2 separate regions of the Homo sapiens genome follow, and region 2 is linked to region 1. Evidence: promoter capture Hi-C in 16 types of primary human blood cells and fetal thymus (Javierre and others, 2016). All regions are on one chromosome and are shown on one strand. Each heading gives the region's core, a stretch centred on a gene start or on the middle of the fragment in contact. The rest is flanking DNA. Distances are from core to core; before and after follow the strand shown. Region 1 holds the start of MESTIT1 (MEST intronic transcript 1, antisense RNA). Region 2 overlaps CEP41 (centrosomal protein 41).

Evidence for each region. The method cuts DNA at HindIII sites, captures the fragments that hold promoters and counts their contacts. A CHiCAGO score of 5 or more calls a contact.
Region 2: a fragment that was not itself captured here is called in contact with the fragment with the promoter of MESTIT1 in region 1 in 1 of 17 cell types (megakaryocytes); the score reaches 5.5 in megakaryocytes.

What each region holds. Positions count from the first base shown.
Region 1 is chr7:130,488,410-130,494,231 of GRCh38, forward strand. MESTIT1 (MEST intronic transcript 1, antisense RNA) reads right to left here and starts at 2,568. Exons shown (of 2, transcript NR_004382.2): 1 at 2,433-2,568; 2 at 1-1,558. It overlaps MEST (mesoderm specific transcript), which reads left to right and starts at 3,676. Exons shown (of 12, transcript NM_002402.4): 1 at 3,676-3,930. The coding sequence starts at 3,905. RefSeq lists a silencer at 2,504-2,713. The HindIII fragment of the contact is 7,997 bases long and covers 1-3,143 here.
Region 2 is chr7:130,399,801-130,405,633 of GRCh38, forward strand. CEP41 (centrosomal protein 41) reads right to left here. Exons shown (of 11, transcript NM_018718.3): 6 at 4,764-4,908; 7 at 2,848-2,999; 8 at 2,081-2,148; 9 at 907-1,021; 10 at 239-454. Among named protein-coding and RNA genes, the nearest start is that of CPA1, 22 kb to the left of the region's middle. The HindIII fragment of the contact is 1,780 bases long and covers 2,631-4,410 here.

The DNA of each region.
Region 1 (5,822 bases), core at 1,318-3,817:
GCTAACACATTTCCTTCTTCTACTTACTCCACAAGGCTTCTTTTCTTCAAACCAAACATGCCCATCTATTTCAAACAGGGAGGCAGTGTGGAGTAGTGGAAAGAAGGCCAACTTTGGAGCCAGGCACATCTGCGTTCAGTTCCCAGCCCCTTCACATCCTAACACTTAGCGTTCCGAGCTGCCGTATCTCTCTCTGAAATCTGTGAGTGAAAATACTCATCTAGCCAGGCTACTGTGAGGATCAGGGATATGTTGGGTGAAGATCCATGCTCATGGTAGGAGCTTAAAATACGAGAACTGTTACACCTTCAGTTTGCAATTCATTTAGTTGACCTTCTCTGAACACATTCCTATTTGTCTCTGTTTCAATATGTATCTGCTCTGTAGAACAGAATAAAATGCTTTCTGTGAGTTCTAACCAGCATAATAGAGTAGGATTAGCTTATTTTTGGTACTTCCCCTCAGTCTGCAGTCACAGTAGCCTTTTTAAGGGTCCTGTCTTACTGATTCAGTAAGTTTCTCAACCAAAACCCCTTCGTTAACATGTGCTCCTGTTCAACCAAGTTTCTCCCATTATGAAGTGTTTTAGTTGATTTGAATCTACAATGATGGCTCTTGAAAGTGGCAGTCCCGGTTGTGTCTTGTTGTCTCCATAAATATCCTGCACTTGTCATATTATGGGTCTCAAACTGGGGTTAGAAAAATATGGTTCTTGAATCTGTGGTACCATCTCTGCTGATCCCATACCACTGTTGTGAATCAGCGAGATAATAAATGCAGAGCTTTCTACATGAATTTTTGCACAGATCTGAGGTCTTATCATGAGGCGGAACTGTGTTAGACTTGGAATGTGACAAGAATGTGTGATAAGCCACTGGCTGAGGGAGTACTACTGCATGAGATATCCTGCACAGTCCAGGATAGCATCTGTCCAGAGGAACTGAAAGGGTGCAACTTCGAGCAAGCCAGAGCCGACTTTGAATTTATGTGTGGCTGTGTGTTTTCTCAGGGCTCCAAGTGTTTTATACCTTGGGTCAAATTCTCCCCCTGCGGAGGAAGCTCCTTTCTGGAAGTAAATCAGGCACATTTAGAAGATTCGTTAACTCTTTGGCTCCTGGGGGATTATGGCCAGCATTTTCTCTCTTAGACTTCCCACAGCGAATTCCTGGTTGGGCCAAGCTGATATCTTTGAGCTGACTTCTGTACTCAGGGTTCTTCCAAACAGGAATATGCTTTCTCTGCCTAAGATCTGGGTTCCATGCCCATCTCAACCTCAATCCCTCCTTCAAGGAAGTTTTTCCTAACTCCTCGGCCAGACATCAATAATGTCTGAAGGGAGGATTTCTCCCGAGTGCCAGACTTGGAATTCCTGTTGTCTTCAGGAGCTCTCCCTGGCGCTCCCTCCTTCCCCCAGGGCCTTTAAACTGTTTCTCCTCCAGTCTGCCCACTTGATCCATGTGGGTAGACATGTTCCATGGCCTTCAGAATAAGATCTTTTGTGGGGTACTCAGTCCATAAACAGAAAATTGCCTTCATCTTGGATGCTGGTGTTTCTGGCCTGGTGAGAATGAAAGTGTGGAATTTGTTTGTAGGACTCAAAGTTTCCATTAACAATAAATATGAAAAATATATAATGCAAAGGCTTTTGTTATTGTTATTATTAAAATAGGAAAGCCTTTACCTTTTTGGAAGAACCGATTTAGATTTTGCAGAGTAATTCAGTCTTTAAAAGGTAGTGGTAGTTAAAATAGGTAATCTTTGACTTGTAAAGAGACTAATTTAAATTTTGTTAAGTAACCAATTAAGGCCATAAAGAGTTTAAATCCATCTGTGGCTTCTCATTTTCTCTAGAACAAATTCCTAATTCCCTACGATGAAATTCTCTTGCTATCCTAATTTTTTGCCGGCTCAAAGGACTAACCGTTTTCCCCAAACACGCGGCCCTGAGCCTCCGGTGCTTTGCGAAAGCCGTCCCCTCCGGCTGGAATGTTCTTTGTCTCTCTGGTAAATGTCTATTCATCATTCAAGACCACCCTTCGCCCCTCCCCTTAATTACTTCCTCCCCTGTGCGCCCTCAAATTCTTGTACTCATTCAAGCAGTATTTATTAGGGGCCAGCTTTGTGGCCGGCACCGTGGCGGGCTCTGGGGCTACAAAAGGTGAATAATACTTGGGCTCTGCCTCTGAGGGCCTTACACGTTAGGGAGGAGTGGGTCAACTGCCACAAACGTCGCTAGGAAATTAAAAGGAAAATTTTACAAAGTGGCAGTTCTTGTCTGTCTTCCCCTCCAGATGGCCCGTGTGTTGTTTTCGGGCCGGGGCTATTTCTCATTTATTTCGCACCCCCGGTTCTTAGTGCCCTGTAGGTGCTAAATCAGCATTTGTTTCATGAGTGCTTTTTCTGGGGGCAACCAGACCCCTGCAGAAGTGTACCTGTGTTGTGCCAGAGGTTCTGATGATAGGCTTATAGGCGGTAGTTTCCTCAGTGTCCGTGGGTCGCCCCCGGTCCCGGGTTGGATGCCCCGCGGTCCAGCACCGAACCTTTCGGGGTGCAGAGTTGCAGAGCCGCGGAGGGCCCGGGCCGTGCGCAGCCGAAGGGAGGCCTGCAGCGCCCCCTCTGGATGCAGCGGGCACCGGCCGGCCGCCCCGCTCACCCGCTCGCACCCCACGTTTGTTCACCAGTATTTCAGTTTACGGTCAGAAAATGAACACAGACACTTCGTGATACTCTACACTTTTCAAAGGCGTAAGGGATGCCTTTTAAAGGATTATGGATTAGAAAAATTCCTCCCTCTTTCTTGTGCCTCTGGGCCCTTGCATTGTGATTCTATCTTACGTAAATAAAGGGGGCTTTGCTCTCCTAATTGTGCCCACTGTTCTGTGCAGCGCGGACCGGCGCATGCAGCGAGCGGGGCTGCGAGGGCGCTGCTGTGGCCAGGCGTCTGGCATGCTGACCACGTCGCGCTGCTGTAAAGGAAACCTGCCCCGCGCAGCGGCGGTGGCTGGAGCGGGAGAAACCGGACTTTGTGCAACTTTGGCCATAGTGGCCATCCCATGAATCTGTTTACTAGCTTGGTGGTGGGTCCAACAGAGCTTGTTGCTCCCTAGCCGCTTGCTCGTGCCCTTGGTGGTTACCGGTAGTTAAGCTTAGGGCGCATAGGGCCCTCGTGGCTCGCCACCTCTCACGGTTCAGTACCCACGCTTCGAACGAGGGATGGGAGCAGGCGCCACGGCCGGCACCCCAGAGCCCTGCTGCCCCTTAGTTCGAGCGGCCATCCTCCTGTGGGGCTTGTGGGCAGCCTGTGGGGTTTGTGGGCGGCCTGTGGGGTTTGTGGGTGGTCTAAGGAAAGAGTTGGGGCACTCAGGGGTCTGCTGTTTTTGCCCGTGGCCTTAACTCATCAGGGGAGGGTTTCTGCAGCAGAATCTCGGGCTCAGGGTTGGCGGTTAACGAGGGAGCAGCGGGGTCTTGGGGAGGGGGCTCGACACCCCTGAAGGTGCCCCCTAAAGGAGCCACTGTTAGAGGGGCACCCCATCTTTGTGGCCATGGCGGTGGTAGAGCGGCTGGGAGGGGCTCTGCGGCGAGCAAGGGAGCAGGCGGTAGGGGTTCTGCGGCGATGGGCGGGCTAGGGGCGGGGCGCGGGTGGGCTCTAAAAGTCGGTGCCCACTCGCTCCGCGCTGCCGCGGCAACCAGCACACCCCGGCACCTCCTCTGCGGCAGCTGCGCCTCGCAAGCGCAGTGCCGCAGCGCACGCCGGAGTGGCTGTAGCTGCCCGGCGCGGCGCCGCCCTGCGCGGGCTGTGGGCTGCGGGCTGCGCCCCCGCTGCTGGCCAGCTCTGCACGGCTGCGGGCTCTGCGGCGCCCGGTGCTCTGCAACGCTGCGGCGGGCGGCATGGGATAACGCGGCCATGGTGCGCCGAGATCGCCTCCGCAGGTGAGTGTGCGGTGGGAACGAGGGGGTGTGGCTGGCGGCCCTGGGACTAGGGCGCAGGCGAGCGGAGGACTGTGTGCCCGTGTCCGAGCTGGGGCTGCCTCTGGGCGAAAACTCTACCGACAGGCGGCACGCATTCCGCGCCCGCTCTGCCTACTTGAGGAGGGGGTGTCACTCCTGCCCGCAATGGAATGTTCAGAACGCGGGACCTCCTTGGGTTAGGATTTCTAGACCCCGGGATCGTCGTGGTGAGATTTAGGATTTCTGGACCCCAGCGTCATCTTGATATGACTTAGGATCCATAATGACCCTGGTCTCACCCTGATGCGAATTGGGATTTTTAGATCCTGGCATCACCCTGGTGCGATTTAGGATTTTTATACTCAGTCATTGCTGCAGCATGATTTAGGATTTCTAACCCCCAGCATCGCCCTGGTTTGATTTAGGATATTTAGACTCCGGCTTCCCTCTGGTGCGATTCAGGATTCTTAGACTCCGCCGTTGCCGTGGCGCGATTTAGGATTTATAGATCCCGGCAAAGCCCTGGTGCGATGTAGGATTTTTAGAACCCCAGCATCGCTCTGGTGCGACTTAAAGGATAGGCCCCAGCATCGCCCTGGTGCGATGTAGGATTTTTAGAACCCCGGTGTCTCCGTGGCGCACCTTAGGATTTCAAGAACGGGATAATCGCAGTGCCGAGATCGCCGCGGTGCAGCTTAGGATTTCAAGACCCAGGTATCACGGTGGCGGGAGTCACCGCAGTGACTAGAACTCGCAGTGCCCGTCAGCCGCCTTAAGTATTTTTCAGATTTCAGTAACAAGCGCGAGTGAGAACGGCGATGTGACCAAACTGTCATGTTGCGCAGGGATTGTTCACCTTGGTTTCGCGGGTTTTCAAAGTGGTTCGTCTCGCGGCGACGCCATCAGGTGGGCGGCAGGTTGGGTGGTATTATTACGGGAGTGTGTTTTTCTGTTTACAAGATGAAGAAATCAAGGCTCAGAAATTTTTGGAAAGTTTGTTACTGGAGTTTGCTTATTGTCTCCGCTCATGGCTCATCAAATAGTTGGGATTTTGGCCAAAAAATGTTTGCTTAACCCATTTTGCCTACTGACGGCTAGGTTGCTTCACTTCTAAAAATCCTAAAAGTTCATGGGGGCATTTTTACTGAGGTAATAAGACAAAAAATGGCCCCCTGAGAGGTTGCCTCTTTGCTTTCTTGGAGTAAGAGGAGGAGGGTGTGGAGGGGGGTGTCCAGGAGTGGAGTATGTTGGTCGATAGCCTCGTTTTTTAACCCCCCACTTTCCCTGAGCAGCGGCGGGGAAGCCTCCCCATTTGCCGCTCTGGCCGCCCCTCCCGGGGCTCTCTGCTGAGTCACTGCAGAGATTCAGCTGCTGGAACCCCGGGGATGAATGCGATGAGAAGCACTGGGGGAAAGGAGTAATGAAATCTGCACATGAAAATGTATACATTGAAGTACAGGACAGATAGGGCTGGGCAAATGATCGTCAAAACCTAATGGTTTTTGTCATCTGACCTTTCAAGGAGATACTGGGATACAGCCTGCTATTGTTGGGTGAAAACTGTGATATAACCATCATGTTCTGGCACTTTTTTGAACCATTTCTAGTATTACCTTGAGAAGTAGGACCAAATGGTTCTATCCGTCTTATGGACAGGTACTTTGGAGAAAAAAAGAAATGACTGCCCTAATAATGCCTAAAAAATAGCCTGGGGAGCTGACATTGTTTAAGAAACATGGTTATTTTACCACTGTAAAACCACAGGCTTGTTTTTAGATTTTAGCAAAAAGTATCAGGGATATGGGGGGGAAAAGTATCTTGTAAGTTGAGGAAGTTAGCGAACGGGTAGGTAGATTACAGGCAATAGGGAAGAA
Region 2 (5,833 bases), core at 2,271-4,770, 88 kb before region 1:
CAGAGCAAGACTCTGTCTCAAAAAAAAAAAAAGTCGCTATGTTTTGATAAAGTCTCTCTTCAATGCGTAATTCTTGCCACTATCTGGGGTCACCTCCACTGCCTCCCCTCCCCAGCACCTGTAACATACCTCCCTAGTATTTTAAGAATCTAAATATAAGAGATGAAGGTTTTCATATGATGAGGTGATATTCAAAGCTGCAAACCAAACATTATCTTTAAAGGTCAAAAGATCTTACTAGGATGATCTGCAGGCCCTTGCTCCTCTTCCAGATAATATTCTATCTTTTTTAAGTCTTCTGGGGTAAATCTCCATTTATTCTCAGCTGGTAGGGGTGGCCCTTTGGGGCTGGATCGTTTCCGGGCAGACCCAGGAGGAAGGGCCTGCTGGCAAGATGCTGGCAGGGAACCAGTAATCAGTCCTTCCGGGAATTTCTGAGCTAAGACTTTTAGACCTAGGTTTGGAAAATCATCAGAAAAAGCTGCATTAATATGGCAAGGCCAGGCCAAAACCTGGAAAGAAGCCTGCATGTCTTCTAATCTCTGGTCATCAAGTTGAGGCCAACACAAGGACATGAAATCTTTCTTAACTATTTCATCATTAAGCAAATTATACCAGAAAATATCTGTTGTTACATGGGATTCTGAGAATTCCACAAGAAATCCTTTTGCTCGAGTCTTCAGCATTAGGGCTTTGTGACAGAGCCCTGAAGCAACATCAGGAATTAAAAACATGTGCTGATGAAGCTAAGGGAAGTTTCACATAACTCCTGACTCCTTTCAGCCAGCATGGCTTTTTCTCTTTCCAGAACACTGAATTCTGAGCACCAAGAGAGAAAAGGGGATGCAGGTGGGACTGAAGGATGATCAGCCTTTGAAGTCCCAAGCAGAGTATCACCTTGCTCACCTCCGGAAAGCATGAAGAGGTTTTCAAATCCACGCTCGCACATGGTGGTGGCCGCCTGACTGGCCAGCCTTTCATCATCGTCATACAGAATGATGATCTTGCCATGGGCATTTTTCTAAGAGTCAGATGAGTTAAGGTTCCAAGGCACTGGGCTGATGTCCCAAGACTACGAGAAACCCCCAAGGAATAAAAGGTCAGGTCCACCTGTCTGAGTTCCCGGGAACGATGGACAAGCCCATTCCTACCGTCACACCAGCAGGGACTGGATGGTTTCCCATCATGGAAACCACACAAGCTGGTATTCGTTTCTTTTGCAAACTGATGTTACCATGATCTAAAAGACAGCACTAGTTCCGGACTTTACATCCTTTAGCTCTCTTATCCCTATGACCCTGGAAAGTAAATATTACAATCCCCATTTTACAGATGAAGAAATAGAACAACTTCTATGCCTAATGTGTCCACTGAAGCCTATTTATGACAGTAAAAATGTGGGAGCCATCTAAAAAGTCCAAAATAAAGGAATATTTTAGTAAATCATAGTAAATCTGAAGATATTACACAGCATCAAAAATGTGGTTTACAGAAGGCTTGCATCAGCATGGGGAAATACATCGGGATATGAACTGAAAAAAAGCAGGATACTAAATTACATATATAGTAAGGTTTCAACTTTGTTAAAAAAAAACAAACACACAGAAGACAGTCTGGAATAAAATATACTAATAATGTAATAGAAGCCACTGCTCAACTGTGTGATTATAAGATATTTCAATTTTCCTTTTAATAATTTTTGGTATTTAAATTATTTTCTGCTTGTATAATTTTTATCAATGAAAAAATTAAAATTTTAAAGGAAAAAATTAAAATAGAAAAAAACCCTAAGTTCTGCTATGGAAAGTTTTCTGGGAGGAAAAAAACTCTCTTAGGACTAACTCTCAATGGATCCTAACTCTTAACCTAGTGTTTTTTGGCCCAGGGCAAGACGGTTTGAAAGCATCCGCCTAAAGAGTCAGGATTCTTGGCAATAGCTAGGAATCCAAATTCTAAAATATGCTCAGCCAAATAATATCAAAGGTCCTTCACAGCATTCTTACCAGGAGCGTGGTTCATGATAACTTTGATTCTTACAATCCTCATACCACCCAATTCCTTAAAATGCAACAAAGGATACATATTCAAGAATATCATTTGAATAAGGGTTCATTGTTCTAGACAGAGTTGCAATTGGGTAACTGTAAGCTGCAAAGAGAAGAAAAAGTTTAGGAAGTCTGTTGTTCTCTTAATACAACTTGGCCTCAATTCCCAGCTGGTTTAAAATCTAAGAGTTAAATACATCTTCAAAATCCATGAGCTGCTGGGCATGGTGGCTAACACCTATAATCCCAGCACTTTGGGAGGCCAAGGTGGGTGGACCGCTTGAGTCCAGGAGTTTGAGACCAGCCCGGGCAACATGGTGAGGCCTCATCTCTATAAAAAATACAAAAACATTAGCCGGGTGTTGTGGCATATGCCTGTAGTCCCAGGTACTCGAGAGGCTGAGGTAGGAGGATCACTTGAGCCCAGGAAGGCAAGGCTGCAGTGAGCTGTGATCGCGCCACTACACTTCAGTCTTGGCAACAGAGCAAGGTATTAACAAAAAAAAAACAAAAAAAAAAATCAACAAGCCATAAACCTAAACACTTCTGTGAAAGAAAAGAAAGAGCACTATGAACAAAGCATGAAGCTTCACTTCCCTGCTTCTGACAGCCATCTGTGAAAATCAGCAGCCTCTCAAGAGTATTTTATGGTGGAGCCAACCCTATAGGATTCCATAATGGATCCAGCTAACATACGGTTTCCTCAACTGTCTACCATGGGCTGTGGTTCCAGCCTGCCTAGACTCAAGAGCAGGCTCTCTGTTCTTGAGAGTGAGGCACTTTAAAGCCTTCTCTCTCTTACCTCCAACAATGTGGCACTGCTGGTAAGAATCTCTATCACGCACATCTAGCAGCAGGAAGGGGCAGTCAGGATAAGGTTTGTCTTTGGTATGGGGCTCTGCTTTCTTCACTGGCCCTTTGTCTAGATCCAGTTCCCCAACACCACTGATGACACTGCAAGTGAAAAAGTAGGTCAGCAGAAACTAGTCAGAGGTTGGTGGCTTAAAGGTCGAACGTGTCTCTTCAGAATAGTGAGGTGAGTGCTCAATGTCTTTTCAAAGGACGCTTCAAAGGCAAAGGAAAATGGACGTGGTGTCTCAGTTCTGCCTCTGAATGCAGGATCCTGTGGATTTTCTCTTCTACTACACTGGACCCCACAGAGGAGACCCACATGTCCACACTCACCTTCAGACAATGCGTGTCAGTGCATTACATGGCTGAGGGGGTAGGGACTGAAGGGCACATGCTGCCTCTAGCCACAAGGGCAGCATCAGAGGGAGAAAGAGGGGAACTGTGAATCCAGTAGAGCGAAAGAGGGAAGAATATGGTTGGTAGGACAGGAAAAAGGAAAGACATTTCTTTCTACGTGTAAGTAATATAAAGTAACAATAATGCTTTATATATTTCATATACGTAGTCAGTGACATATCTGCTATGGTATTGAGTCTTAATACTTACATAGCTCTCTGTACTTACTCCAGTTTTATAGGTTACAACATTGAGGTTGACGAGGCTTTAGATTTGGTGGCATTCATAGAATGAGGCAGAGGAAGAGCTGGGATTAAAATGAGGAAGCTAACCACTACCACTAACAGTTCTAATTCTAAGGTCATTCAATCACTGAAACTGGTCACCATCTTAATATTATAGGGAAAATGTGGTAAAAACATGAATCAAAGTAATAACAAGACTAGGTGTTATGAACAAAATGGCAAGCAGTGAAATATCCTTACTGGAATAAGAAGATGGTTACTTTCTTAGGAAATATTAAGACTCATATGCTAAATCACAGATTAGTATGTAGCATAGCTCCTTTCCCATAACAGCAAATCAAATTCTGCATTTAAATCCAATAAACACTATAACTCTATGCTATATAGTGCATATTTTGTTGAACCAAAGGAGAAGAACATCTGTTTGATAAGAAACTGCATCCTCAGTGGAAGTCCTGTTGGCCTATCTCTTCTTGAGTGCAATTTTAGAGTCCTCTCGCAAAAGTAACTATAATAATATAAAGCTAAAAGAATAATAATAATGGTGGGATGATGATAGCAATTCTTTCTCTGGTAGAACTAATTTCTCCAGAACTATTTTATCAGTCAAAGGGATGGACATCTGCTGAAAATCAGTACTGCCCTATAATCAACAGTTAATATTAGTTAGAAAGTACTACACGGACTAAAGTCCATGTAATCCTTGGAATAAGGAGGCCCATGCCTTAGAAGAAGGAGCAGAAAAATAAAATAAAAAGAAGGAACAGCCACATTCAGCTTTAGAATAAACACCAAGTACTGCTTTTTCCTTTGCACCTACTCAGTATCAGAGCACTATGTGTGGCACTGTCACTTCCGGACAGGGTATTATAAGCTTCAGCAGTCGGAAAAGGGGGAAAAATCATACTCTCTGAATCAAAAGATAGTATTTGTAAAGCTAATTCCTCATAACAAACTTATATGTAGGAGGGAGAAGAATGGAACGAGAAATGAAAATTAAACTCTCCTATTAATATATTCTCACATTAACTCAGTAAGAATGCAGTGAAAAAGATTCAGGAGGTAGCATTTATATAAAGATAAAGTAGAAGGCTGGGATTAAAATGTGAGACTTTACTCCTGCCAGTTCTGTTTCTAAGGCAAGAAAAAAAAAAGATCCCTGAAATTGGCGTCTAGATTAATATAAAGGCAAAATGCAGTGAAAATATGAATCAGCTTCGAGTACCTCTGAAGAGTTGAGCGGCTGGAGTCCCCTGCTCCTGCGTTGTTTATGAACTGCTCAGGGCTCGGCGACTGCTCACCTGGATTTCCTTTCCCATTGGTCCTGGCAGTGGTTTCAGCATCAGGGTCTGAAGCTGCAGAATCATTGTCTAATATTTACAAATGAAGAAATAATTAGATTGAACCTCAGGATTTGTATTTACTTATTAGTTCCACTGACATTAAGTCAAGAAAAGGAAATCTTATCATCATTATTAAATTGTCGTGGAAGTGCTAACGTACAAGTTCCCAAAGTGTAGTGGACCCCAAACATCCCCAAGGCCCTTTCAGGGGATCTGCAAGGTAAAAACTATTTTCATGAGATGTTACTTGTCTTTTTTACTGTGTTTATATTTGCACTGATGGTACAAAAGAAATGGTGGATAAAGCTGCTAGCACCTTAGTAAGAATCAGGGCTGTGGCACCAAGCTTTATTAGCAATCATTGTATTATTCACCATCACGCATGCATTCACAGTAAATAAGTATGGCAGTCACACTACAAGAAGGTCCCTGTTAAAGCAGTAACACTTACTATTCTTATTACATCTCACCTTGAAGTAAGTACATGCTTTTTTTAATGTTCTGTGTGATGAGGTGAGGAGTCCACATACATCACGTTTGCTACATACCAAATTACCAGGGTTATCTCAAGGAAAAGTATTAGTGTGATTGCTGAGTTGCAGGCTGAACCAGTAACTTTTGCTATGCACACCATTTTTGCTTGGAAGAAAAACTGACAGAAAAACTATGGTTAGTTAGACTTGTATATTTGGCAGACATTTTCTCAAAAGTGAACTAAATAAGCCTGTTTGTTATTTCAGGGAACACTACTGATGGCATTGTTGCCAATGATTATATTTTAAGCCAAACTCAGAATTTTGGAAACTATATTTGCCATCAGGAACCGAAGTATGGGGAGCTGCTTCCCCATGCTTACAGACCTTTTTGGTAAGATAGATAGTGAGAATAATATATGTGATTTTTTTGACAGTTGTATAATAAAATGTATTAACCTTTGGGAAGATCTTCATAA